Linked DNA regions of Homo sapiens: all the other regions are linked to region 4. Evidence: promoter capture Hi-C in 16 types of primary human blood cells and fetal thymus (Javierre and others, 2016). All regions are on one chromosome and are shown on one strand. The core of a region is centred on a gene start or on the middle of the fragment in contact, and the rest is flanking DNA. Distances in the headings are between cores, read along the strand shown. Region 1 has its middle 84 kb from the start of MREG. Region 2 holds the start of LOC105373870 (a long non-coding RNA gene). Region 3 overlaps LINC00607 (long intergenic non-protein coding RNA 607). Region 4 holds the start of FN1 (fibronectin 1). Region 5 has its middle 24 kb from the start of LINC00607. Region 6 overlaps LINC00607 (long intergenic non-protein coding RNA 607). Region 7 overlaps LINC00607 (long intergenic non-protein coding RNA 607).

What was found. Contacts are between HindIII fragments. The CHiCAGO score rates a contact against its expected background, and 5 or more counts as called.
Region 1: a contact is called between a fragment that was not itself captured here and the fragment with the promoter of FN1 in region 4, in 4 of 17 cell types (M1 macrophages, M0 macrophages, erythroblasts and 1 more). The highest score is 6.3, in M1 macrophages.
Region 2: a fragment that was not itself captured here is called in contact with the fragment with the promoter of FN1 in region 4 in 7 of 17 cell types (endothelial precursors, M0 macrophages, M2 macrophages and 4 more); the score reaches 9.6 in endothelial precursors.
Region 3: a contact is called between a fragment that was not itself captured here and the fragment with the promoter of FN1 in region 4, in 2 of 17 cell types (endothelial precursors and M0 macrophages). The highest score is 8.0, in endothelial precursors.
Region 5: a fragment that was not itself captured here is called in contact with the fragment with the promoter of FN1 in region 4 in 9 of 17 cell types (endothelial precursors, M1 macrophages, M0 macrophages and 6 more); the score reaches 11.7 in endothelial precursors.
Region 6: a contact is called between a fragment that was not itself captured here and the fragment with the promoter of FN1 in region 4, in 2 of 17 cell types (endothelial precursors and M2 macrophages). The highest score is 13.5, in endothelial precursors.
Region 7: a contact is called between a fragment that was not itself captured here and the fragment with the promoter of FN1 in region 4, in 1 of 17 cell types (endothelial precursors). The highest score is 8.6, in endothelial precursors.

What each region holds. Positions count from the first base shown.
Region 1 is chr2:215,927,340-215,931,413 of GRCh38, forward strand. No RefSeq gene overlaps it. Among named protein-coding and RNA genes, the nearest start is that of MREG, 84 kb to the right of the region's middle. RefSeq lists an enhancer at 272-798. The HindIII fragment of the contact is 6,678 bases long and covers 1-4,074 here.
Region 2 is chr2:215,908,111-215,912,113 of GRCh38, forward strand. It overlaps LOC105373870 (a long non-coding RNA gene), which reads left to right and starts at 541. Exons shown (of 3, transcript XR_001739231.2): 1 at 541-597; 2 at 3,448-3,531; 3 at 3,676-3,762. The HindIII fragment of the contact is 5,383 bases long and covers 1-4,003 here.
Region 3 is chr2:215,808,160-215,811,992 of GRCh38, forward strand. The region is part of intron 1 of LINC00607 (long intergenic non-protein coding RNA 607); the gene reads right to left. Among named protein-coding and RNA genes, the nearest start is that of LINC00607, 33 kb to the right of the region's middle. The HindIII fragment of the contact is 4,814 bases long and covers 1-3,778 here.
Region 4 is chr2:215,434,089-215,438,105 of GRCh38, forward strand. It overlaps FN1 (fibronectin 1), which reads right to left and starts at 1,980. Exons shown (of 46, transcript NM_212482.4): 1 at 1,567-1,980; 2 at 608-736. The coding sequence starts at 1,714. FN1-DT (FN1 divergent transcript) reads left to right here and starts at 1,603. Exons shown (of 2, transcript NR_187198.1): 1 at 1,603-2,221; 2 at 2,831-4,017. RefSeq lists an enhancer at 1-491 and silencers at 2,004-2,063, 2,074-2,163. The HindIII fragment of the contact is 4,490 bases long and covers 1-3,906 here.
Region 5 is chr2:215,865,786-215,869,671 of GRCh38, forward strand. No RefSeq gene overlaps it. Among named protein-coding and RNA genes, the nearest start is that of LINC00607, 24 kb to the left of the region's middle. The HindIII fragment of the contact is 2,223 bases long and covers 647-2,869 here.
Region 6 is chr2:215,824,703-215,828,839 of GRCh38, forward strand. The region is part of intron 1 of LINC00607 (long intergenic non-protein coding RNA 607); the gene reads right to left. Among named protein-coding and RNA genes, the nearest start is that of LINC00607, 17 kb to the right of the region's middle. The HindIII fragment of the contact is 7,248 bases long and covers 1-4,137 here.
Region 7 is chr2:215,786,598-215,790,293 of GRCh38, forward strand. All of the region lies in intron 1 of LINC00607 (long intergenic non-protein coding RNA 607), which reads right to left. Among named protein-coding and RNA genes, the nearest start is that of LINC00607, 55 kb to the right of the region's middle. The HindIII fragment of the contact is 1,289 bases long and covers 1,079-2,367 here.

The DNA of each region.
Region 1 (4,074 bases), core at 493-2,992, 490 kb after region 4:
TGTCCCAATTCTTAGACCTTTTATACCTGTTTTTCTCCTTCTGTTATTCCATTTAGTTTTTCAATTCATACAAAACCATATCCAGGCCATCACCAATCATTCTATACAACAAATGTTTCTTCTAACGTCCCCACAATATCACCCCTTACCACAAGATCTGCCTTCAGCTTAATCTCTCCCACTCTAGGTTCCCACGCCGCCCCTAATCCCGCTTGAAGCAGCCCTGAGAAACATCGCCCATTCTCCCTCCATACCACCCCCCAAAAATTTTCGCCGCCCCAACACTTCAACACTATTTTGTTTTATTTTTCTTATTAATATAAGAAGGCAGGAATGTCAGGCCTCTGAGCCCAAGCCAAGCCATCGCATCCCCTGTGACTTGCACGTATATACGCCCAGATGGCCTGAAGTAACTGAAGAATCACAAAAGAAGTGAATATGCCCTGCCTCACCTTAACTGATGACATTCCACCACAAAAGAAGTGTAAATGGCCGGTCCTTGCCTTAACTGATGACATTACCTTGTGAAAGTCCTTTTCCTGGCTCATCCTGGCTCAAAAAGAACCCCCACTGAGCACCTTGTGACCCCCACTCCTGCCTGCCAGAGAACAAACCCCCTTTGACTGTAATTTTCCTTTACCTACCCAAATCCTATAAAACGGCCCCACCCTTATCTCCCTTCGCTGACTCTCTTTTCGGACTCAGCCTGCCTGCACCCAGGTGAAATAAACAGCCATGTTGCTCACACAAAGCCTGTTTGGTGGTCTCTTCACACGGACGCGCATGAAACTTGGCATTGCCATTTTACAGATGAAGGCCAGGAAGTTTCAGCAATCTGCCCAAGTTAGGAAGTGGAGAGCTGGAGGTCCCACCCAGGACTGCCTCGTGGATGCAGCTTCTCTTGCCCTCATAGCTTCTCTCTCGTGATACATGTTAGGCTGTCCTACTTCCTCCAGGAAGTCACCCCACGTTCTCGTGAGCCAACAATACCATTCTTCACACATCAACAATGTGAGCCAACTCCCACATAAAATGCCGACCAACAGACCAACTGCAGGGCATTTCATCCCGAAATATGTAGCAGCTGGATACAGAACAGAAAGAGACACGAGGTGGAGACACGAGGGTTCAGGCTGGTTTGTCTACAGTGGAATGGAGTCTCCTAAACTCAATGGCAAAGGTCACAGGATGGTCAGCTGTGAGAAGAGAGCAGGGAATCAAGGGCAGCAGCTTGTTTTGTCCTACAAACACTGTCCTAAAAACACTGCAAAATTCTCATGTTGAAACAAAACTCCTGGATATCTACACAAAAATCTGCACACAAATATTCCTAGCAACATTACTCATAATACCCCAAAAGTGGAAACCACCTCACTATGAACGGAGTGTCTCCAAAATTCATATGTTGAAGTCTTAATCTCCATTGTGATGATATTTGAAGGTGGGGCTTTGGGGAGGTAATTAGGGAGAAGGAGGAGCCTTTGCGAATGGAATTGATGCCGTTAGAAGAAGAGACAGGAGAGAGATCATCTCTCTCTGCCACAGGAGGATCCAGCATAAAGATGGCGTCCTGCAAGAGCTCCCTCACTGAGCACTGAATCAGCCAGCCGCTTGATCACAGACTTCCAGACTCCAGAACTGTGAGAAATAAACGTCTGTTGTTTAAGCCACTCAGGCTGAAGCGAGTGTTGTGGCAGCCAAACAGACTAAGACAAACCCAAATGCCCATTAACTGATAAATGGATGCATAAAATGTTATAATATTGTATGCAATATTATTTCATAAAAATGAAGGAAATTATTCCACAATACAAAGGAATACAATTATGATTCATGCGACAATACGGTTGAATCTTCAAGACATTATACTAAGTGAAAGAAGTCAGGAACAAGGGTCCCATATAACCATAGGTTCCACTTACACAAACGTCCACAACACATAAATCTAGAAACAGAAACTACGTTAGTGGCTGCCTAGGGTTTAGGATGAGGAGGGTAGATGTGAAGAATGAAGGAGGTGTGACTGCAATAGGGTACAGTTTCTTTTAGGGTAATGAAAATATTCTAAAATTGATTGCAACTCTGTGGATATGCTGAAAACCATTGAATTATATACTTAAAATAGGTGAATTGCATAGTATGTGAATTATACCTCAATGAAGCTGTTACCAAAAAAACCCCCACAATATTCTACTTAGAATATTGTGCTTAGAAACAAAATAAGTTCTCCAATTGTTGGGGGTCTGGGGAGGAACTCATGGTGTTTCATCAAAATGATCCAAAATTGATTCTGTTCTGATCTAGCCTCTTCTCCCAGACATCCTTAACTCAGCAAATGGCCCCACACTCTGCCACAGCTAGAAAGCTATGAGTCATCCTTGATTTCTCCTCTTCCTGCACCATCCCCCAAATTCAAATGCATCAGCAACTCCTGTCCATTACCTCTCCAAAATACACCTCACACTTCACCCATTTATGCTCCTCCTCAATGCCACCAACCTAGTCCAAACCATCACCCTCTCTCAATTCTGACACATCTTGTTCCCATTCTTGCCATCCTCTGATCCATTCGCAATGCATGGCAAGTTATTGTTTCACAACATAAGTCAGCTCCTGGCTCTCCAAGGCAGACACCCTTCTCTGGTCGCACAAGGCAGGAACTGAAGATCCACCCTTCCTCGTGCCTCCAGCGCTCTGCTCATCATGACCCCCTAAGCTACTCCAGACATGCTCTGCTCCCTTTCGCCCTCAGCTATGCCAAAGCCTTTATCGCCTCCAGCCCTTTGCACTTGCTGTTCCCTCTGCCTGGGCCCCTCTTCCTTCACATCTTTGCATGACTGACTGGCTGTGACTCATCCTTTAAGGGTCCCAACTCAGACCTCTCTCAGAGAAGAGGCCCCTGACCACCCTGTGCAGAGGGGCCCCACTCAGTTCCACCTTATCTCATCCAGTGTTCCTGTTACAGCACTGCTTGCAAATTGTAGTTACCTTGTTTGTTTGTCTACTCTGTTCTCATCTGCCTTACCCACTAGAAACTGGATCCAATCTTTTCTTTTTATTCAAACACCTTCTATAAATATTTGCTTTTTGTTTTTGTTTTTGTTTGAGACAGGGTCTCACTCTGTTGCCCAAGATGGAGTGCAGTGGCGCGATCACTATGAAAAGATCAGGTCACAGGGATACAAAGACGACCAGGATTTGTAGTTGACCAGGATTTGGTGCTACCCTAAAAGAGGTCTTCTTTTCTGGGGGACAGGGACACAGTAATGTAAACGTGTATTTCAATGCAATATGATAAATGTTCTGAGTACTTTTGCTATTGAAGCACAGAGATAAAGCTCTCTCCAAGTCTGAGTCATATTTGTTCTGGAAGAATCAAGGAATTTTGAAGACAGAAAAATGAAGCAAGGGCTCTCCGGTTTTATTTGCAATGTTCTGTGTTTCCAAATCACTTTTAGTAATCTGCCTTTTGAGAGAGGCATCCCCTTTACCACCCTGCCTAAGAGGAAAATTAATTCGATAATTATTTAAAATTTGGTAGGTTTCAAAGGAATGGGTATTTGGAGCACACTTCACTAGTCTTTCCCCTTTTGTTTTAAAAATTTGCCAAAGTAAAAAGTTGCTTTAGAAAGTAGAAAACCAATAATGACACTAGCAACCTGGAATGCAGTAGAGGCAGCTATCCGGCATATCTCAGATTATAATATTCAAATACATGCCGAAGACAAACACAATTTGGCATGCTACAGAACTAGAGAAACAGGTAGGCCTGAGAGTTACTTGAATTTTTTCTGGGGCAGAAACTCAGAAATCCAAAAATGATCTTATTTACAAGCCTTTAGTCTGAGTTGACCTTTCTTCTTTAAAAGACATCGATGCCCTTTCGTTGTTTCATTTTCTGCCAATTTCCAAATGTTCTCCAAGAAAAAGACAACCTCTGAAATTCACCAAAAAATGAATAAATAAAAACCCTCTAAATCAATCACTAAATGAGGAAAAATAGACAGAACTTCGTTAATTGACTCAGGCTTTTAAAAATTGTCTCTCCTGATGGGGACTGAGGGATGAGATCTT
Region 2 (4,003 bases), core at 919-3,418, 470 kb after region 4:
GCACCACAACCTTTTTCCTCTGAGTCTTGTATTTTCTCTTTTCCAATGACTCTCCTTTCCTATCCTCCTTTCCTTCTCTTTTCCTATCATAGCCAAATTCCTGAAAAGCCAACTATACTCTTCCCATTGCTCAATTCCAATCTGCTCCTCACTCCCTTGGAATTGACCACCAAAAGGACAGCTTCAATTCACTGCTGGTCTATTCCTTTATTTTTTATCACATTCAGATTCCATTCAGGCCTCAGGCAAACAAGTATATGCTGATGTTCATGCAATTGTGTATGCCATAAAGAGATTTATATCCAGATATACACTTTTGTCCACAAATATTTCAAAGCATCTTACTAACAATTCTTCCAGGTCTTTTGTTTTCCTTTTAATTGCTGAACAATTTAAGCTACCTGGAAGTAAGAACTATGTCCTCTTGCTTTCAGTAGTGGGACTTAGGACAATTGTATAATTAAATTAGAATCAAATATTAGATTAAATTCAAGCCATTTCTACCAAATCAAATCAACTGCATTTATTCTGTTAATACTGCAGCTCCCGTAACTTCAGACAACAGGAACAGTATGTAAGAAGAGCTGCATTATCTAGGTAACAACTTGTTTTTTGAAAGTTGCTAATATTACATAAAAACCCCACTTTGGATAGATGGAAGAGAGAGACAGAAAGAAGAAATTAAATTGTTGTTAGCTCTATCAAAAACCTGGACTGTGTGAGCAGGAGTTTAAGGGAAAAACAACTTTGAGGCATTGCTGGTGTGAGTGTGAAGAATATGTGGCCCCAAATACGCCACTTTGGCATAGAGAATATTCTGAGCTAAAGACAACTGAGAACCAGCAGATACAGAAAAACCTCTTTATCCCCCGTCAAAATGCCTAAAAACAGTGTATAAATTTCTCCTTGCATAAAGGAAATATACATTTTTAAAGGAATTTCCATTTGTAAAGATGTCTCTTAACCAGGAAGAGAGCTATTTCCAGAGACAATTCTTATCACATGAGAGACTCTTATCTGAATAAAAGATGATCTTTATTTACCAAACATTTTCTCTCCTTGAAACCGCCTTTGCAAAATTATAACCAAGGAAATTATGACAGTGAAAGAAATCAGACCTTACCAACTCCATCTTGCTTCTAACTTTTAAGCTGTTCTTGTTCATTCCTGGCACAGGCCGAACTAACTTTGGGAAGAAATTCAGTTCATGGTTTGACTTTGAAACAAAATTGATAAAAGTCTTTTCCCGAAAAGACCCCCTTCTTGCCTGGGGACCAGTCTGCCTTTGCAGTACTAACCAATCAGCTACAAGATTAGAATTTACAGTTTAGGGTCCAAGAGTATGAACCTTCCCAAATTGCCCCTGGGGATAACATCACTGTTATAAAACCTAAGATCAGTGCTTAAGATATTTTTCAGACCCTGCACTTGATGGATCAGCTGACACCACCCAGATTGGTAATCTGGCTCAACCATCACCCAGAAACAGAAAACAGCAAGAAAAACTCACTTCAGCCCCCTACGATTCCATCTCCAACCTGACCAGTCGGCACTACCCACTTCCAAAGCCCCCTACTCACCAAATTATCTTTAAAAACTCTGAACTCCAAACACTTGGGGAGACTCATATGAGTAATAATAAAACTCCGGTGGCTCTGTGTGAATTACTCTTTCTCCACGGCAATTTCCCTGTGTTGATAAATCAGCTATCTCTAGGCAGTGGGCAAAGTGAACCCACTGGGCGGTTACATCTTCACCTTTCCATAATTTGCTGCCCTGTCCAAAAGCCCCAAATCGTTTTTTCTTTGGTTACCCAAAAATAGTATATAAGCCTCCATCTTCTAGCCACCTCCTTGAGCCATCATTCTCTTTATGAACTCCCATGCATACATCTGTAATTAAAACCTTTTTCTCTTATCAATCTGTCTTTTATCAGTTTGATTCATGGGTCTTAGCCATAGAACCTAGATGGGTATACGGCAAACAATCTCTTTTCTCCCCTGCAAGTGTGAATTGGAGGAAATTTTGTCAATATATATCAAAATTAAAAATGTATATACTCTTTGACACAGAAATTCTACTCTTTTGGAACTGATCCCACAGATTTATTTATATTTATGTAAAAAGAAATGTGTATTAAAATATTCACTGTGGCATTAAAAAATGAGACAAACATAGGAAATGCTATTCAAGATATGTAAAAAAGCAAAGTGCTGAACAGTATGTATAATATGCTAATAGTTATGAGGGTAGGGAAACACACAAATACATATATGCACACATGTACTTACATAAGTGTGTGTATCAAAAAGATGATAGATCCATAAACACACACATACACATTTGAATTTGGAAAGACTGCCTCTGGTAGCTTATACCAGAAAATACCCTCAGCTATTGTCTTTGAGAAGAAGAATTAGGGGTTGGGGATGGAAATTTACTTTTCCTCTACATTTCTATGTGCTAACTTAAAAGTTTTGCCCTGTGCAAGTAAGTATAAGAGAGGAAAAATAATTTCCTCTCTACCCTCCATGGTTCTTAGCTGGGATTCCCTGCAGCAAAAGACAGATTAACAAGAGAAAAATAAACAGAAGTTTATTAATATGTATACCTCCTGTATACACGAGCAATAACTTTGGGAAATCTCAAAGATTAAATCTCAAGGCTAGATAAAGAATTGTCTTAGACTTCAGACTTAAATACTATTGTCCCCTGAAACAAAGAAAGAGGAGTGTGGAGAAAGACATGGTTATGGGGAGGTGTTCAGGAAAAGTGCAATAAACAAGAACCAGGTTTATTTTGCAGATGTAAGTCCACACTTTCTCCATTGATAAGAGTCTCTAGTGATTCAGTCAGCCCTATCTTCCTGGTATGGAGAGGGAGATATCCTTAAAAGTGAAGATTTCCTTCATAGGTATAAATTTCTCTTACAAAAGGGTAACTTCTGTTTTCAAAGTGTCTGCTGTGTCTGCAGGTTCTCAAAATAACCAGCTCAAAATAATCCTTATGCCAAAGAGGCATATTTTGGGATGACTTGGGGTAATGTGTTCTGAACCCTATTAAAGTATTTTTTAAATTATTTTTAAAGAAAAATAATTTGCTTAAAGATGGGGTGAATTTGAATCCCTTTTTTCCCCCAGTTTAAAGAGTTACCGTAAGATTTGAGAGGTATGGGTGGACCCGCTCTGAATTGAGATATTTCAGCCACTGATTTAGGATGAAAGAGGGTTTTCTCTTGCCTCCCACTGGTTTTGTGTTTCACTGTTTTCAGAACATTAAATGAAGTGTTACCATGAAGAAGGCACAAATTACTTAATCCTCACACAAGAGCCAGTCTCATTAGCTCACACTCACACCTCTTAGGTCATACCATGGCCATCAATTATACCCGGCTGATGCTGCAAGGGACAATCTCACTGCTCTGTGACATATTTTTCTGTCTTACAGATTCTAGGTCTCAAAATATAAGGAATGACCTCACGAGTCACAGCCCAGTTGTTCCTATATGTAGTTAGAAGGAGATATCTGAAGGTTGGTACACTGTTAATATTATTCAATCATTTCAGCTCTCTTCTCAACCTCTCTATTCTCAACACTCAATTTCAAGTTTATGGCACCACTGCGATTCTAGCCCTTCCATTTCCCACTCGGAATTTCTGTGCTATCGTCCCTCAGGAGCTCCTTGGATCTGGCATCCTCTCTACCGTCAACCTCACACCCCAGGCAAGAAGGGGAAATCCCAGAGGCCATAATCCTCCAGCCATCTGGGAGGCACCCAGAAGACAACCATTAGCAGACACTCTGGGACTTCAGGCAGTTCTGCTCCTTGAAACAACTGTCACTGGAGAGGCGATTTTACAGCAGCCACTGTTGTCAAGTGGAAATACATTTTTAGTAATAAGAATAACAGCAATGGACGGATAAGCTGGCTCTTCTGGAACAACCATCCAGGGATATTCCAGCCTTACAGTTCTATCAGGTCAAGCAAAAGTTGATGTTTCTA
Region 3 (3,833 bases), core at 122-2,621, 370 kb after region 4:
GTCCACCACTGCATTGTCACTAATTGCTATTTCATAGAAACTTTGTCCTGTTCCAAATATATATCTCAAGTGTATTTCTTTGATCATTTACTAATTTACTTTTTTAATTGAGTCACTCATGTAACTATTCATTAAACATCCAAAATGTTTCACGTCTTTTACCTTGCAGAGAAAATGGCTAATACCACTTTATACCTCTTCTCCTGTGCTCTGGGCAACACAGGACCTGCTTATTCATTTAACTAGAATTCAAACTTCCGTCATAACCCTTAGTGATACTTTCAGTAGAACAGAAAGCCCTGCATGAATACAACTGCATAGGAAAATTTAACATATAATAAAGTCAGCACCTCAAATTAGTGGGAAAAAGATGAACATTTAAGTGAGTAGTATTAGGACAACTATTAACAGATAGATAGCTATACTTTAAAAGGAGGAAATGGATCCATTTCTCACACCATAAAACAAGATAAATTCCAAGTGTATCAGGAATGTAATAAAATGAAACCATACAAATACTACATGAAACATGAGTGAATTGCTTTATTACATGACACTTGGAAAAATGTTCCTAATCATGACTCAAAATCCAGAAGTAAAAAGAGAAAGGACTGATACAATTGACGATGTAAAAAATAAAATAAAGTTAGAAACCTTTATATGTGAAAAGTGTCATAAGTAATGTAAAAAGGGGACAAATGACAAACTGGGGAAAATATGTGCCACTTACGTCACCCAAAGCGATTATTCTTCACATAAACAGAGCTTTTAGAATTTGAGAAGAAAAGACCGATAACACTCTATTGTAAAACGAAACTAAGAAACAATTGATAAGCAAATTCAAGTGACCTACAAAAAGCTCAACAGTGCTAATAGTAAGAGAAGTATAATTTTACACTTCTCTGAGATTCTAGTTCTCAATTATCACTGGATGGGAAAAATCCAAAAGTTTGATCACATAAACAGTTGACCAGACTGTGGGGAAGCAAGCACTTTTGCTCTGCTGGTGGGAATGCAAAATTTCACCTCTCTTCCAGAGGAAGATTTGCTGATACCTTGCTAGATATTTACTCAGCGACACCATGTTGAGTAATCTATTCAAAAGATACATTGGCAAAACTATAAGAAGATGCACAAGGCCATGCATTGCAACACCATTAATAATAATAAAGAACTTGGAAGCAATCCAAATATCCATAATGGAGAATGGATTCAATAAAGAATAAATCAGGATACAGCCATACAATGGAGTACAAGCCTGCTACAAAAAAGAAATGAGAATTATCTCTATATTACCATGGAGTCATCTTCAGACAAGTCCTTAAATTTTTTAAAGGCAGGGAAGGCTTAACATATACAGTTCTTTAAATGGTTATCTATGATGAAAGAAGGAATTATATAGAAGGAGCAGGGCCAGGCACAGTGGCTCATGCCTATAATCCCAGCACTTTGGGAGGCCGAAGTGGGTAAAACAAGTGAGGTCAGGAGTTCAAGACCAGCCTGGCCAACATGGGGAGACCCCTTTTTTTGTATTTTTTTAGTAGACAAGGAGTTTCCCATCTGGGCGTGCTGGTGCATGCCTGTAATCCCAGCTACTCGGGAGGCTGGGGCACAAGAATCGCTTGAACCCAGGAGAAGGAGGTTGCAGTGACCTGAGATCATGCCACTGTACTCCAGCCTGGGTGACAGAGTGAGGGAAAAAAAAAAAAAAGAAGGGACAGGGTCAAAGCAATACTTCTATGAATATACCTTGTTTTGTATATTTGAATTTGGTACAGTGTAAATACTTTGCATAATTATAAAACAAAATTAAACATAACAAAATCAGATACTTAACAATTGAGAGCAAAATTAGTCAAGTAAATACAACTGTGTATCAGATGGATGGCAAAACCACATAGAGGAACTATTCCAAATGACTTTGAAACATTGTAAACTGACTATAAATTTCTATTGAGATATACTCTGTGGACAAAAAGAACTGCAAATAAATCTTAAAATTATCAAATCACTGCAGCTAGTGGTAGGTATTGTTATTCTGAGACTGTCGTGTGCATTGTGAGATTAAGCAAATAAGTAATTGTCTTGGTGCCATCAGAAACCAGGATTTTTGTCATGAGAGAAAGGAAATACAAACGTAAGATGCAGAAGATTGAGTTAAAAGTCCTATTCTATATTTGAATATATATAAATTCATGATGTATTTTATTTAAAAATATATATATATTTCCTACCTCTATCCTCTGAAAAGATCAACCTAAGAGCAATGAGGAGTCTTAATTCTCATATTGCTGTTTCTAGTCATCATTTCCAAATCAAAGCAATCATGCACCTGTAATCCCAGCACTTTAGGAGGCCGAGGTGGGTGGATCACCCTCCTCGAGGTCAGGAGTTCAAGACCAGCCTGACCAACATGGTGAAACCCCCATCTCTACTAAAAATACAAAAATTAGCGGGCGTGGTGGTGCGCACCTGTAATCCCAGCTACTCAGGAGGCTGAGGCAGGAGAATCTCTTGAACCTGGGAGGTGGAGGTTGCAGTGAGCCAAGATCTTGCCACTGCACTCCAACCTGAGTGACAGAGCGAGACTCTGTCTCAAAAAAAAAAAAAAAAAAAAAAGGAAAAGAAAAAAAGAAAAAGAAAAAATGGCTGATTCCAAGTCTGAGAAAGGAAAAGTAGAGGATGAGCCTAGAACATTTTGTCATACTAGACAACGAGGAGGCTCTCAGAGATTACTGAGATTGCTCAAAAGATTCAAAAGACAACTTGAATAGGTTGCCACTGGCCAAAGATAAACTAATTCGACACTTCAGAACACTCACTTCCATTCTTTGAAATCTGTGCTTCCTAGGTGGCTATCTTCAGACTTTGCATTTGAACACTTTAAACTAGATTTTGACCCTTTTGATTATTTTAGGATGACATTTTGGTGACCCAGATGGGACCCAAAGCAAGCCGCCAGTGATCCCCACCATTTCACCAACAACAGTCAGGGCACTGGTATTAGCATGAATGACTTTTGTTCACTCGACCTCACTAGAGCCAGGAGGAGTCTCTGGTGAGGTTCCTCTTCAAGTTCAAATCTCCCTGATTTTTGTTGATATTCAGACCTTATTCAAGCCACCTAATTCCACGCTCAATAGAGCTGGAATTAAAGCTCTGCTTTTCAGGTAAGGTTTTGGGTTTTGTTCTCTAGAGATTCTGCTCTTTGCAGGTTTTGTTTTGTTTATTTTGTGTTTTGTTTTGTTTTTATAGACAGAGTCTTGCTTTTTTTTATAGACAGAGTCTTGCTCTGTTGCACAGGCTGGAGTGCAGTGGTGCACTCATGGCTCACCGCAGCCTCAAACTCCTAGGCTCAAAGAATCCTCCCACCTCATCCTCAGGAGAAGCTGGGACTGTAGGTGCAGGGCCACCATGCCTGGCTAACTTACTTTCTGTAGAGACAGGGTCTCATTATGTTGCCCAGGCTCATCTCCAATACTTAGCCTCAAGTGATCCTCTCAAAGTGCTGGGATTACAGGCATGAGCTACTGTGCCTGTCCTATAGATTTAGGTTAACAGTTGTTTGTTGAACTATGCATTAGAGTTTGTGCAGCCTTTGCTCTCATTCGCACTATGGTCAGGAAAGGAAACCATTTCTCTCTCTGAAAAGAGGAAGTGAATTTTTTTGTGGTTTAAGCAAAGTTTGTAATTAAAAAAAAAAAAAACTGGCTAAACTTGGAAGCTGGGTTCATTTGACATATCTAAAGTCCCTTCTGAGTGGCCAAAGCCAGGGAAAAGCTTTTAATCAGAATGAAGATAAATCCTGAAGATAAGGGACACTATTCTTCCTG
Region 4 (4,017 bases), core at 730-3,229:
AGACTCTGTCTCAAAAACAAAACAAAACAAAAACAAACAAACAATTCGAAGATCCCCACCTCCCACAAGGCCTTGACAGTTGTTAATCCTATGATTTCCATTTTCCCCTGATCAGTGCTTCTCTGACAGAGTTGCTATAATTTATGAGAAAAATATCATTGGTCCTAAAGGAATGAGAACTTTGAAGTGGCTAATGGTTTTGTGTTAACTGCCGCTGACAAATCATTTTACGATGTAAGTCCCCAAAGTGTTTTCTGGCTCATAAACTAACAGTTTAAGATTTGAGACTGCTTTCTAATAAATTAAAATTTTATAAGCAATTTTTTTTGTCGGAGGACACACAAAATCTTTCATTTTTCTCATCAAAAACTTTGGGAGAGTAAAGCAAAAAGAAGACTCTAGGAACTAATTTGGGAAAGATTCGTTTCTTTGTTTTAAAGGTAAAAGCATGTGAAAAGCAAATATAAGCAGTTTTTAAACTTAAGAGGAAATGACAGGTAATTCTATTAGAAAAATGGTGTATGTATTTTTACTTACTAATGCAAAGTTTAACAATTACCACTTCATGTATTAAAAGATACTAACTATGGGGCTTGTTGTCACTTACCTTCAGGTTTACTCTCGCAGTTAAAACCTCGGCTTCCTCCATAACAAGTACAAACCAACGCATTGCCTAGGTAGGTCCGCTCCCACTGTTGATTTATCTGATAGTGTTTTCCATTGTCATAACAACCGGCTGCAAATAATTGAAGGAAAACGTTACATTTGCATTTCTCCTTTTCCCAAAATTATGGAATTTTCTTCATGTGAATATTGACGTACATATTTTTTTCCTTTTAACTTTGCTAAAAGTTATATACAATGATGTCATTTCCATCTGGCCAGGGGTCTACATAAAAAAGTTGGAAACATTTTGGAAGGCAGACAATTGAAGTCACATTTTTAAAACATGCAAGGAACTTAAATATTCTTTTGGAGTAATAGTCAAAAAGGACAACTTTAAGCAGCTTTCTCAAAGCAAAAGGAGGGTGTGTCTTTGAAAAACGGAAAGAATTCCAACCTCTGTTCTTGGTGAAGTATCCTGAGCGGCCCTAAAGAGGTCTGAACCAATTACATCTCTTCCAAGTTAGTTAGAAACAAGACAGCTATTTCAATACCCCCTTTCCACCCCCATGTTGAAAATATTTGACCAATTATTTAACAGAAGGAAATAAGTAGCAGTAAGGACCACACTAATCCCAGACGGAAAATTTATAGACATGCATCATTTTTCTCTTTAAAGGCAAGTTTTGGTTAATTCCTAGAAGGACAATCTGAACGTGCAGAATTTATTAGAACACGGGAAAGTCGCAGAGTCCTCGTCCTCCAATGCACGGTCTTATCATCCCAGGCCCTCAGAACCAGCGTGCTCAAAACTCGGTCCTTTTGTGTGCACAGCTGGTTTCTCTCAGTAAAGCGCGCACACACTCGCACACACGCGCGCGCACAAAACTTCAGCCCCAACTTTGGTCGGCTTTAGGGTCCCATCCCTGAGGCAGCCTGTTTCAGCCCGCGGTCAGTACTCACGCTTGCTTTGACTGACAGCCACCGGGGACTGGGGCTGAACCATTTGCTGAGCCTGCCTCTTGCTCTTCGAGGCTCCCGTGGAGGGCACCGCTGTCCCCAGGCACTGGACGGCCAGCAGCAGCAGCCCGGGCCCCGGACCCCTAAGCATGTTGAGACGGTGGGGGAGAGACGCCCGCACCGGGAGGCAAGTTGCCACCAAGTTTGCTTCCCTTCGCAACCTGCGGGAAAAATCCCTTCTAATGCCTCCCGGGGGTTGTCGCCTCCAAGAAGGTGGGGGCCAGAGGGTGGGGAAGGGGACGGGTGGAGGGACAGAAGGGATGCAGAGGACCAGAGAAGTTGTGGCTGCAGGTCCCCTCTTCCCGCTCGCGCCTGGGGTTCCCTCTCCTCCCCCTGTGCAGCACAGCCGGCGCGGGCGTCCGAGCGCCGGGAGCCGGGGCTTATATGGGACGGTCCCCTCCCGCCCCTCTGGAGGCCCGGGGCGCGGGGGAGGAGAGACCCGCCGGGCTGTCCCCGCCCCGCCCCACCCCACCCGCCCGCCCGCCCGCCGGCCGCCGCAGCCGACCGCGCGCCGATTGGCCCGGGCTCCGGGTGACGTCACGGGGGACTGTGGGTTCGCAGCGAACAAAAGAGATGCTGATGGCCCGCCAGGACTGGGGCAAGACAACTTTTTTTCGGTTTCCTTTGCGGTCATCAAACTTTTTAGGGGATGGGGGAAGGGATGGGAAGCGGCTGGGAGGAAAGGGAGTGGCTGGACTTGTGTGAAGCGAAGGGGTTGCAAGACGCTCCCCCTTCCCTTTTCTTTTTTATTGGGGGTGGTGGTAGTGTTTGAGGACATTGCGTCACCTCTCTTCGGGGTGGAGGGGGGGAATCTCTGCTTATAGGAGTGTATTTTGTGAGGAAGAAAACCCATAAAATATCCACGACCTTGCAGCTGTTAAGAATCCAGACTTTTCAGTCCCAGGGCGGGGCTGCCTTTCCCCCCATCCCGCTCCCTTTCTTTGGACTAAAGGGTACTGACTCGGGACTCCCTTATTTTGTCTTCACAGCTCCCTGTTCGGACTTCTTCCCTTCTCAGCGCTGTGCCTGTCTGGCTCTGAGAAAGGGCCAGCGGGCGAACGGGGAGCAAAGGGGAACAGAGACCTTTAATGAGCTTCTACTAAGTACCGGGAGTTCCGCGGGGCGCTTTGCAGATCCCGGGGAAGTTCAGAGAATGAAGTTTTCTTTTGCAAGGACAAAGTAACAGTTTACTTTTTTACACATGCAGGAAAGCCTTCCTTTCCTGGGGATGGGACGCCCGTTTCCACTGAAAGTGAAATCACTGTGAACAACCTGAAAATTGGAAAGTTGGACCAGCTGTGGGGAGAGAAAGGTCTTCGTGTCCTTTCCCACGTTCACCGTGCCAGTTACACACAAAGCAGAGATTTTTTTGCTTGAATCATTAAAAGCCGGGTGGGTGGGGGGCACCCTATGTACTGTCTTGCCCTCCTTCGGCCCCTTTCTCACATTTATTTGCCATTTTCTTTTTGCTGACAAGTTCCATTACAGAATGCCCCCTCCATCCCCCGCCGCCAGATTTTTTATATTTCAATTGTTATTTACTCCAAGAGTGTGGAAAGTTCTCCTTTAAGATTCCCCCGCCTTGAACTCTAAACTCAGAGTGGAAAGGGAATCTGAAAAGTCTCTCATTTAGCAACACATCACATCAGTCCTTTTTGTCAGATAAACACAGGCACAATTGCTTTTAAAGATCTTCAGAAGGAGGAGTCCACCACTTCCACAGTAGATCCAGAGAGACCCGAACTGAATGCTTTGCCTTCTCCTTGTGTTAGGAGTTCAGAGGTTCCATTTGCTTTAAAACACAAGAAGCTACTAATAAAATATATTTATTTCGGCAAGGTACCTATTTTCTCCAAAAGTTTCACCTTCAGTAATTGCCACAGGAGTAATTAGAACTCTGTGTTCTATAAAATGCCTGACACATTAAAGACACAAAATTAGCATTTGTTTTTATTCATGCAAGGATTTAAAACCAAACCAAAACAAAGCAAAACACCCAGCAAATATCAGTTTCCTACAAATAGTGTAAAAAAACCTCTTGAGGAATCTTTGTGACCCACACTCCAAATTGAAAGAGTGCCATGGATTTCCCCAAATTTAGAATCCTGTCTGGGTTAGAGGATTTTTTTGGAATTTCTCATCACTTGACAAAACAGTTTTCTCTTTTCAAATATAAAAGAGCTCCTTGTAAAATGCTTGGTAAATTTCTGGGAAGCCGAGTGTTTCTTCCAGAGGGAAGGATACCTGGAAATCCGGATGTAAGCAAGATAAACCTGTAGCTAAAGCTTTCTTAAAATTCATTGATTCTGGGGGAAGGAAATAAGTGATTAGAAAAGTATTTGGTCAACCAAAACCATGATAGTTTGATATATTTACTGCACTGAAAATACACTA
Region 5 (3,886 bases), core at 508-3,007, 430 kb after region 4:
GAAGGAGAAGGGACACATATTATTTATTTATTTATTTTCTGAGATGGAGTCTCACTCTGTTGCCCAGGCTGGAGTGCAGTGGTGCAATCTCGGCTCACTGCAACCTCTGCCTCCCAGGTTCAAGCAATTCTCCTGCCTCAGCCCCCCAAGTAGCTGAGATTACAGATGTGCACCACCACGCCCAGCTAATTTTTGTGTTTTTTTTGTAGCGATGGGGATTCACCATGTTGCCCAAGCTGGTCTAAAACTCCTGATCTCAGGTGATCCGCCCACTTCAGCCTCCAAAGTGCTGGGATTACAGGTGTGAACAACCGCACCCAGCCTGGGACAGATGTAATTTAGTGAAGTGGTGGTGAGAGCCTGCTCAGGGTAGTGCACCTGAAGGGCCAGGCTCTTGGATGGGGACAGGTGTCTTGTGACTGAAGAAGTAGCACCAGGTGCTATGTCTTGGGAAGTTCAGCAAAGGTTTCTGTGGTTTAGCATGGCATAGCACCATGGAACGGCCCCACGGAAGAGATGGAGTTGTTAACAGAGCCATCTACCTTTGAGTAGACTTACGGGCTTGAACCAGGAACCACCTCAGAGGAAGTCACCCCTGAAGAATGACCAAGACTATGCCCCACTTTCCCAGACCATATAAGCCCCAAGCTTCTCACAGCATCTAAGAAGAAAAGAGGGAGTTCTTTTCACCCCATCAGCCAAAATATCAATTATTACTTTTCACAAACCCGCATGAGGAAAGAACAAAGTGGATTTCATTTGATATAGAAAACTAAAGAAATCGGCATTTCTTGTACCCAAATAGTCATTAAACAATTCATACAATTCTATATAAACCACTGGATAAAATACAATGGGTTAGATACAATGGGTTAAAGGAGTGATTATTTCTGCCTGAAAGATTGAGGAAGGCTTCTCATTTCAACTTGATCCCAAGCCCCTCCTCTGAGGCACTCCAAACAGGAAGGACTCTCAGTGGGACGACAGAAAGCAGGGCAGAGCCACAAAGCTACTACCTGGAACATTTCTCTTGTCAGTTTTATTGGGTGCTATTAGTCTCCTATTGCCACTCTAATAAATTACCACCAACTTACTGGTTTAAAACAACACAAATGTATCACTTTACAATTCTGAAGGTCAGAAGTCTGCAATAGGACTCACGGGGCTAAAATCAAGGAGTTGCTGGGCTGTGTTCCTTTCTGGAGGCTCCAGGGAAGAATCCTCTTTCTAGCCTCTTTTAGAGACCCCATTTTCCTGGGTTCACAGCCTCCTTCCAGCTTCTAAGCCAGCAATTGCACCCCTCTCACCTCTTCTGCCACAGTCCCATCTTCTCCTTCTCTGACCCCTGCCTCCCACTTGCAAGGACCCTTGTGATTATATTGGGCCACTCAGATAACACAGAATAATCTCATTTTGAGGTCAGCTGATTAGCAACCTTAATTCCATCAACAGCCTTAATTTCTCTTTGCCATGTAACATAACATATTCACAGGTTCCAGGAATTAGGACACGGGCACCTTTGGGGTCTCATTATTCTGCTTGTCACAGGAGCCCTGTCTGCAAAGCTCACATGCCTCTTCTCACCACCATCTTAAATGAAAGTCTACTCATTCTCTGATGCATAAACTCACTCTACTGAACCCCCACCTCATGCACCAGATGACAACAGAGAAGAAACAAAGAGAAGGTCTTTGTTCTAAGCAGTGGAGGCACAGAGTTAATGCTTTCCAAGACACTAAAAGGAAATCCGTCTTTAAAATTCATGTCTTCCTTGGCAATCAAAGTAGGCCAAGGGACTTTTAGTGACTCCCTTGTGACAAACAGCAGGCATTGATCACACAGCTGGCAGATATTAGCAGGGAAACCTATGGCTACAAACAGAACGAAACCTCTGATGTTGTTAGCACTCGGCTCAAACCAACTTAGCCAGCCAAACCCAAATTTTAATTATCCACAAAACAGTGAAGGCAGTACAACCACTGTTGTACAAGAATTCCAGAATTATGAAACTTTTCTACATACTTAGAGCTTTTATAATATTTTCATCCAAAAATAATAACCTAAGGAAACATACAAATACTTCTGGTAATACCATACACATTTGTCTTTGCTTTTTACTAAAGATAGATCACCTCAATATGTTGGCAGAGCCACCCACCTTTGAATAGACCTATGGGCTTGAAGCAGGAGCCATCTCAGAGGAAGCCACCCCCAAAGAATGACCAAGACCATGACTCTCTTTCCTGGACCAAATAAGCCCCACTTTCTAAGATGAGGCTTTAGAAGATGGCTAAAGTACCAGCCATCTTCTACTTTCCACTCATTCTCATTGGCTTCTAATGTCCTCAGAGGAATGTTGGGATGAGAAGCAAATTAGACATTGACACTAAATCCACATATGAAGTAGTCATAGTACAGAAAGAGCCATATGCAGGTCCTAGGACACATGACCTTGGATTTTGGATCTGACATCTCTCTTTTGGATCCTATCCACCCAGTACCATTTTTTAAAGTGACCTATGTCCCAAGGCTCTATATAGAAGGTGAAAGTGACACTTAGTAACACTGAGTATACAAAATGTAGCGAACAATAGCAGTAGAAAGAACCATGAGATGTTTGTTAGCATCTCAACTAAGGCTTTGATTTATGTAATTTCATAAGGTTTTTATAAACCATTGATAATTATACATTGTTGCTTAAAATATGGATAACTTTAAAATGGAAACACAATGAAAGTGGAGCAAATTAATTATTATGATGTAAATACTATAATCTAAATCTCTCAAAACAGGACGTCTAGAGAGGAAAAATAATAAAATGGTAACCATTGTTGTAACTCAATCACCCCATTTTATAGATGCAAACTCAAGCTTCAGTGAGCTAAAGTTCAGTTAGTGGGTACAAAGCCAAGACATGAGTCCAAGACGCATCTCTTTATTCTCTGTCATTTTTTTTTTCTCTCTCTCTCTCTAAAAAAAGTGCAAGCATCCGAGTAGCTGTTTTCTCATGCTCTGTGACGTGCTAAGATAACTGAATATAAGTGTCCCAGAACTCGGCACTATGGGACTGTAGCCCCCCATGTGATGAACTGGAGGCAAGAGTGGTCAGGATTAATAGCAAATTCATACAAAAACTAGCTTGTCAGACTTTCTGGGTCCTGTACACCTAGCAGATGCATTTCCCAGCATGAAAGATTAGTGCCTGGAATTAGTTGGCCTGGATTCCCTATAGTTTCCAGTGTCACTGGTGAGAGAAGAGTTACAGATTTATTGCTGGACTATAGTGAAATGAAATCATTGTTTGGTCATCATTTCAAACCAACATACAGTCTTACATTTTTCTCTCTCTCTCATAAAAGTCCCTTGACACATTTCCTTCCTTCTTCAAGCAACCATTATCTGCACTCTAAAAAATGAGATCAAGAATAAATGTTTATACAGTAAAGGTAGTCTCCCTGACTATTCAGCATTTAATGATAACATTTGTTTTTTAATTCCTTTCTATTGGAAAAATGCCTTTATTTGTAAATAGTTGCTTAGCAACATTCTTTGTAAATGCTCGTATCTCATTTGGAACACCTATCACTTGGTTCTGGAAGTCCTTAAATTCCTTGGGGCTTCTGCAGCATTCTCAAAATATGGAGAAAAGAAGAAGAAAACATGCAAGAAAGCTGAATCATTCCAATTCTCTAACTACAAGAAGAATTTAATAAAAACGAAAAGTTACCTTCATTTTGGATGGAAGTGACGTGACGCTAAAGGAAAAAATATGAAACTAAGATGCGGGGAGATAAGGAATATTTTGTACATCTATGAAAGAGTCCATGCCTAGAGCAGATCAAGTCAGGAGTGGGAGACTGGGAACATATAAAAAGATATAGAACTT
Region 6 (4,137 bases), core at 785-3,284, 390 kb after region 4:
TTAAAAAAAGCTCATTATCACTGGTCATTAGAGAAATGCAAATCAAAACCACAGTGAGATACCATCTCATGCCAGTTAGAATGATGATCATTAAAAAGTCAGGAAACAACAGGTGTTGGAGAGGATATGGAGAAATAGGAATGCTTTTACATTGTTGGTGGGAGTGTAAATTAGTTCAACCATTGTGGAAGACAGTGTGGCAATTCCTTAAGGATCTAGAACCAGAAATACCATTTGACCCAGCGATCCCATTACTGGGTATATACCCAAAGGATTATAAATCATTCTACTATAAAGACACATGCACACACATGTTTATTGCAGCACTGTTCACAATAGCAAAGACTTGGAACCAACCCAAATGTTCATCAATGATGAACTGGATAAAGAAAATGTGGCACATATACACCATGGAATACTATGTAGCCATAAAAAAGGATGAGTTCCTGTCCTTTTCAGGGACATGGATGAAACTGGAAACCATAATTCTCAGCAAACTAACACAGGAACAGAAAACCAAACACCGCATATTCTCGCTCATAAGTGGTTGTTGAACAATGAGAACACAGGGACACAGGGAGGGGAACATCACACACCCGGGCCTGTCAGGGAGTAGGGGGATAGGGGAGGGATAGCATTAGAAGAAATACCTAATGTAGATGATGGGTTGATGGATGTGGCAAACCACCATGGCACATGTATACCTATGTAACAAACCTGCACTTTCTGCACATGTATTCCAAAACTTGAAGTATTAAAAAAAATAAAAATAAAAAAAGCCTAAAATAAGATAAAATTTTTTAAAAAAGCAACAAAGTATGAATAATTTGCACTATTGTCGGATTCTACAATAATTTCCCCATAGGGATTCCTCTGACAAAAAAAAATCCCATTAATTTTTCAATTCCTCATTGTAATTCTTCTTTATATAATTTACGATACAATAAAACAAATGCATATGTTTAAAAGTTTAAACCTATCTTCAAAGTTCCCTGAAGATTCATTCTCTTGTTTGACATTGACTTGACTACTGTAAGTAAATATTTCAAAAATTTTAAATATCCTTTATAAGGAAGCACATAAAGTGTCTTATCTTAGCCCAAAATGCAAACTAAAAAGCAGCTCCATGCCATGTTTTTGCTAAATGTCATCACTTAGATCTCTAACTCACCAACCAAGACTTGATCTAAAACACAAATAGACCCAAACAAGACTTTGTAAAGAGATTCAAAAAAATATTCAGGCCTGAAAAATGTGTTCCTGCCCACATTATTGGCCCAGCAAATACATCCCATCTGGGCAAATGATCAGAGAAGTGCTGAAAAGAAAAAAAAAAATTAGCCTCCTCAAATGTCTATAATTCTGAGCATTGAAAACTATTTTTTGCTTAAACCAAAGAGGTTTGGCTTCTTAAGATTTTTATGCAAGCCTTGCAGGGTACCTAGAGACCAAACCCAGAATAATTCACCAAAAGTAAAAATTTCTTATTTTCTCATGTTTTATTTTTAAGATATGAGAAATTCTGATGTCTAGTGTAATCTGTATCTTTATTTCTTTTAATATGAAAATAATGTGAGTTTTTCCTTTAAGGTTCTTAAAGTAAATGAGAAGCTCCAGAAAAATGTGTTGTGCTTATCCTGTGAATTTTTCTCTAAGCACAGGCCAGACTGGAAAACTTGGAATTAAATGTGTTAAAGACCCCCGTCAGATTAGAATGGGAACGGGTTCTTAGGGGAGGCATATTTGGGGTTGATTTTGATCAACTATTAACAGCATTGCATGGACTGGTTTATCAGAAGAACTGGCAAATCTTCTAACAAGGCCCTGAGGCAGTGAAACCAAAACAGCAAGTTTATACAGCAGAGGTACCAGGAAAGCCAAGTGAGGAGGTTGACCCACAAGCTATGGCGTGGTCTAGGTGGGAAGGGCAAAGGAGACAGTCATGCCACTAAGAAGTGGCAAGCCTGGAGTTTGAAGGAGTGGACAAAAAAAAAAAAAGAGAGAGAAAGGTTTCTGAAAGAAGAATAGAGGACCCAGAAATAAATATTTCCCACATCTTATGTTTATCAAGAGTATTCCCACTGATATCAACAGGAATGAAAACATAAATATCTGCTTCAAACATAATCACTGCAAAGAATTGGAAAGTGGCTGATACAGGCTCCTTCTAGTGGTTCGCTGGAGTCTATAAGAGCGGAACAAGAGATAAAGAAAAACTCCTCCTCAGGTTACAGTTACATGTTCTCTTTGCCCTTCCCACCAAACACTGATTTGCAGAGGTCATTGCCTAAGCAGCAAATATGCTATTCGTCAGGTAATAAAGGCAAAGTTAACGATACAAAGATAAAAGAAGCATTTTTAAATTTACAAAATAGAACAAAGAACTACAAAATAGGGTCATCAATGTCAAGCAATTAATTATTTCCTAAACAAAGATAACCCTGGATTTCAAAAGCACACTCATCAATTACAGACAGACTAGCCCAAAAGATGACTAAGGGATAATATCTGGAATATAGGTTACAGAATGCCTTTCAAATGTCTGAGATACACACATTCCGGAGTACCGTGAAAACTAAACAAACAAGAAAGCAACACTTAAACGCCCGACATTTCCCAGAATTTGTATAAAATAGCATGCTAACTCACTCTGGAAAGCACAGCCTGCTTATCCTTTCAGATATAGAAGGGAAGATGAATCTGTTCACTGCTTTCTCTCTTCCACCTCCCCCTGAGTGTTCTCCACATTTAAGAGAAGGTTTTTGCTAAAAAGTAAAATACTCCTTGGCATTAGGAAGAGCAGCATACTTTGCATTCTTTTTTTTTTTTTCAAAATTGTATCAAAATCTCCTTTGAAAGCAAGGATTGTTCTATTTATTTGCTTTGTATCCTCTATGGTCAGAGCTCTATGAAAGAGAATCCAATCAGTTCTGCAACAATAAACAGGATGTCTAGGAAGGTATCACAAAAATCCTTAAAGCACAGTTAATTTTAAAACTTATTATTACTATTAATTATTATTAGAGAAAGGATCTTGCTCCATTCCTCAAACTAAAGTGCAGTGGCACCATCATAGCTCACTGTAACCCCATATTTCTGGATTCAAGAGATCCTCCTGCTTCAGCCTCCTGAGTTGCTAGGACTACAGGTGCATGCCACTATGATCAGCTAATTTTTTTTATTATTTTTTGTAGAGAGGGGGTTTCACCATGTTGCCTAGTCTTGAACTCTTGGCCTCAAGTGATCCTCTGGCCTCAACCTCCCAAAGTGCTGGGATTTACAAGTGTGAGCCATCAAACCTGGCCTTAATTTAAAAATTAATGAAAACAATTAATTCTACTTTGGCATCAAAAATAATTGCCTAGGCCAGGCGCAGTGGCTCACACCTGTAATCTCAGCTCTTTGGGAGGTCAAGGCAGGCGGATCACCTGAGGTCAGGAGTTTGAGACCAGCCTGGCCAACGTGGTGAAACCCCATCTCTACTAAAAAAATTTCAAAAATTAGCCAGGCATGGCGGTGCACACCTGTAATCCAGCTACTTGGGAGGCAGAGGCAGAAGAATCGCTTGAACCTGGTGAACCAAGATCAAGCCACTGCATTCCAGCCTGGGCGACAGACTAAGACTCTGTCTCAAAAAAAAAAAAAAAAAAAAGAAAGAAAGAAAAGAAAAGAAAAATTGCCCGTATAACACTTTGTAGAAAGATGCAAAATGTTAAAAAAACAAAACAAAACAAAACAAAACTGATCTGTATTGCCATATTAAAAATAAAATAAAATAAATAAAACACGTTGGGAATTACCATAGCAGCCCTCACCTGCTTCTCTGTGCAGGACCCCCTAAGGTAGAATATAAAATGTCATCAACTGTTCCCTGCCTTGAATATCAGGTCAGTCTACTGTCCCTCCTTCCCCTAGGGCAGCATATCCTCACCAGCAGCTCAACTGTTCTGGCAAGAGCAGCCTGTAGCCTGAGCCGGGCCTTCCCTCTCACCTCCTCTTCCCCTCAGAAAGGTGTTGCAAGAGCTGCTCCCTGCTGCCCTCTGTCTTCCAAAGCTCAATTTGGTTAATTCCTCCACAGCTTGTCTTTTTTCCCCCTATCTTTACACACCTCCATAAACACAGTTTTTCCTCTTTTCT
Region 7 (3,696 bases), core at 473-2,972, 350 kb after region 4:
CACACAATTGGACTCTTTCTAAAGCTTCCAATTTTCTCAAATTTTCCATTTGGATGATATGCATTAAGCCCATCCTTAGTGACCCCAGCTGGTCATTATCATTACTAACAACAAAATATAGCAGATATTTATTTGGATAATGATGCTGACTCAGTAGTCTAGAGGGAACACGCTTATGAAGGAAGGAGCTGCAGTCAACATTGTGCAAGTGATCTGCTGCTAAGCCTGAATGGGGCAGGACTGAGGTTCTGTAAAGAAATTACACTAGCTCCATTGTAAGGTGATGGTAAGTATGTGTGTGTGTGTGTGTGTGTGTGTGTGTGTGTGTGTGTGTGTATGCAGGTGCACATTTGTACTTTATCCCCTTAGAGGAAATGGAATCTTTTATTTTGTGAGGCATTCTGTTTTGCTGTTTTTCTAGCAATACATAAAGCTGTCTTATTCTAAGAAGGTCAAAGCATTTTATAGACATTACCTCAGCAGGCCATGCAAGAGTCTAGCAGAGTCCGCATGGTCAGGTATTATTGTTTCCTGAATCAATGTCCTGCTGCAACTCCTAAAAGGGCTCTTGAATGCTAACCAAAGTAGTCCCACCACTTCAAAGCTCACAGATGCTTAAATTAGACTTGAAGGTGAGGGTTCAAGGGAGGCGTTTTTCTTGGTTTCTAATTCTTGCCATCTGGTCTTAATCTGACTCCAGAGAGAAGCAAGCTGGCGGGTGACAGCTTAGAGCATGGCTAGTCTTTAGAAATGCCACCCAATCCTTTTCTGCATAATTGGTACCAGGATTTGCATAGATTTGCATACATTATGTATCTATCAGTATTCTTTTAGATCCCATTTAGAATTAAATTAATTTTGCTATATTTAAGATGTCATTCTAGGTGGCTTTTTCATTTTCTTTTTCAGATGGTTGTGCTACCTGCCTTTATTAGCCATTGCTGTATTGGGGTTTCCCAATGAAAACTGCTCTGTCAATAGCAAAGCCATTCATTTAATAAATACGTGTTGAGTAAATGAGTGAAGCCAAGATCTTGACCTGTCCATCCCAGTTATTAATCCTGAATCAACATCTTTAAGCTTGCTTGGGCTAGAGAACAATTGAATGTCTGGCTAGATGTGGGGAGCAGAACGAAGGCAAGGGCTACCCACAGGCTGGCCACGGAGAAGATGGACGGCATGTCTGATGCCTCAGGCTGTAGAAGTGGGGCTGTCTTGAGGCTATGGCACTTCCCCTTCTAACATGCCCCGGGTACTTTGGGCACACTCATCTGTTCCCCTGTCGTCTCCTCCTTTAGAACTGGGGTGGAAGAGAATGGGAAAGATAATTGGGATAAAGCAAGGTTGGAATTTGCCTGCTCAGTGACAGGCCATCCTCCTGTGCTTAGAGGGCCTTGCTGATAGTAATTCATGTTGAGACACTCTGCTCTTATCTTGGACAGCACTGCTTTCTTCTCGGCTATCTGAAGCCTTCTAGAAAAGCATTAAGTTCCCTCAAACACACTCCCCACACTAAAATGAGAGTCTTTTTTTGCTATAAGGAGGCTTTTTTTTTTTTTTTTGCCAATTCCAGTGTTGAACCTCTAAAGAATCCTGGGATTGAAGTTTACACAACCCTGGGGCTCTCTATCCAATGTATATAAGCACCCCTTGGCGAAGAGCTCTACCCTCACAGAGTCAGATTAAATAGGTCTGGACAGCCGTGGTGGCTCAGGCCTGTAATCCCAGCACTTTGGAAGGCTGAGGCAGGAGGATTACTTAAGGCCAGGAGTTTGAGATGAGCCTGGGCAACAAAATGAGACCCCATCTCTATGAAAAAAAAAAAAATTTAATTAGCTAGGTATGGTGGCATAGGCCTGTACTCCTAGGTACTTAGGAGGCTGAGATGGAAGGATCGCTTGAGCCCAGGAGTTTGAGGTTACAGTGAGCTATGATCACACCACTGCACTCCAGCCTGGGTGACAGAGCAAGGCCCTGTTTCTAAAAATTAAGTAAATAAAATAGGTCTGGAGTGGATTCCAGGAATCCAAACCCAGGTGTTGAAAAAGCAACTGTAGATAATACTGATGGGCAGTGGAGTTGAGAACCTCTAACAACTCATTTACCAGTGAAGGGAATTTGGTTCAGAGAGATGTAATTTAGTAGAAAGCCAAGCCCTAGAACCAGATTTCTCCCCGGTTTCCAATACACCCACACCATTTCTTTTTCCCCACAAAAGTTCTTGTCAAATATTTCAAGAAACAGAAGAATAAAAGTGATTTGCTGAGGGTTGAGATTGGGGGAAATAAGGTATCTGTATTTAAGGCAGTGGCACCTGGAGTAAGGTAGAGAATAGACTCTTATGAGGGCAAGAATATGGTCTTCCCAAGCTTTGCTTTTACAGAAACGGAAACTAGCAGTTCCCAGAAGCCTGCTAAAGAATAAAAACCAGGCGTGGTGGCTCATGCCTGTAACCAAAGCACTTTGGGAGGCCAAGGCGGGCATATCACCTCAGGTCAGGAGTTTGAGACCAGCCTGGCAAACATGGTGAAACCCCATCTCTACCAAAAAATACAAAATTAGCCGAGTGTGGTAGCGTGCACCTATAGTCCCAGCTACCGGGAGGCTGAGGCAGGAGAATCACTTGAACCCGGCAGTTGGGGGTTTCAGTGAGCCAAGATTGTGTCACTGGGTGATAGAGTGAGACCTCGTCTCAAAATAATAATAATAATAATAAAGTCCATCGAGTTACACAGGGCCCCACTTAACAGCCCTCGCCACTGATCCAACTTAACGTTGGCTTCTCAGCTCAGGTTTCCGATAAGGTCAGAGGTGGTTTCCTGGGATAAGAAATGGAAGCTCCTTATTCTTAATCTTCCAAAGAATCCAAAGGGTTCTTCAGAAACACTTTGCCAAGGGTCAGGGACCCTGAGTTCAAAAGCTATCAGGGATTGATATTCAGCCGAATCGCTCTTTGGCCCTCCTTAAGGCACCTTCTGGAATTCCTAGGCCATATTTTGCTTTGCAGCAAAAGAGCATTAGAGGCTTAATCTAAGACTCAGGAAAGTTCTCAAAACTCAAGAAATTGTGAAAACATAAGACCTCAGTGGTTAAGAGAGTCCTCATGGTTGCCCTTAACTCTCTGTAGTCCCCAGACTGAACTCTATACCAAAAATACAGTTTCAAAGTCTACGCAAAACAGGAAGGTGCATTTGATCTAAAGGTAACCGAGGAGTCCTGACTGCATCAAGCCCAGGAGCTCTGCCCCACACTAAGATAAATGATATGTGAACTACACAAATACTGTTTGGCTTCTTTACACCACGCAACACATGGACTTTTGTGTGCTTCCCAACCTACTTCCCAGAACTTACGTAGTGAGAACTTATCTATTTTGCAGACGATGCCGTGCATACGTTGTCTCATCTAATCCTCACAGAAATCTCATAAGGTAGGTGTCACCATCCTTTACAGATGAAAGAAACTCCCCCAGATCACTTAGAAAGCAGCAGGGCCATGGCTCACTCCTATAATCCCAGCACTTTGGGAGGCCGAGGCAAGTGAATCACTTGAAGTCAGGAGACCGAGACCAACCTGGTCAACATGGTGAAACCCGGTCTCTACTAAAAAAAATACAAAGAGTACCTGGGCATGGTGGCATGCACCTGTAATCCCAGCTACTCAGGAGGCTGAAGCAAGAGAATTGCTTGAACCTGG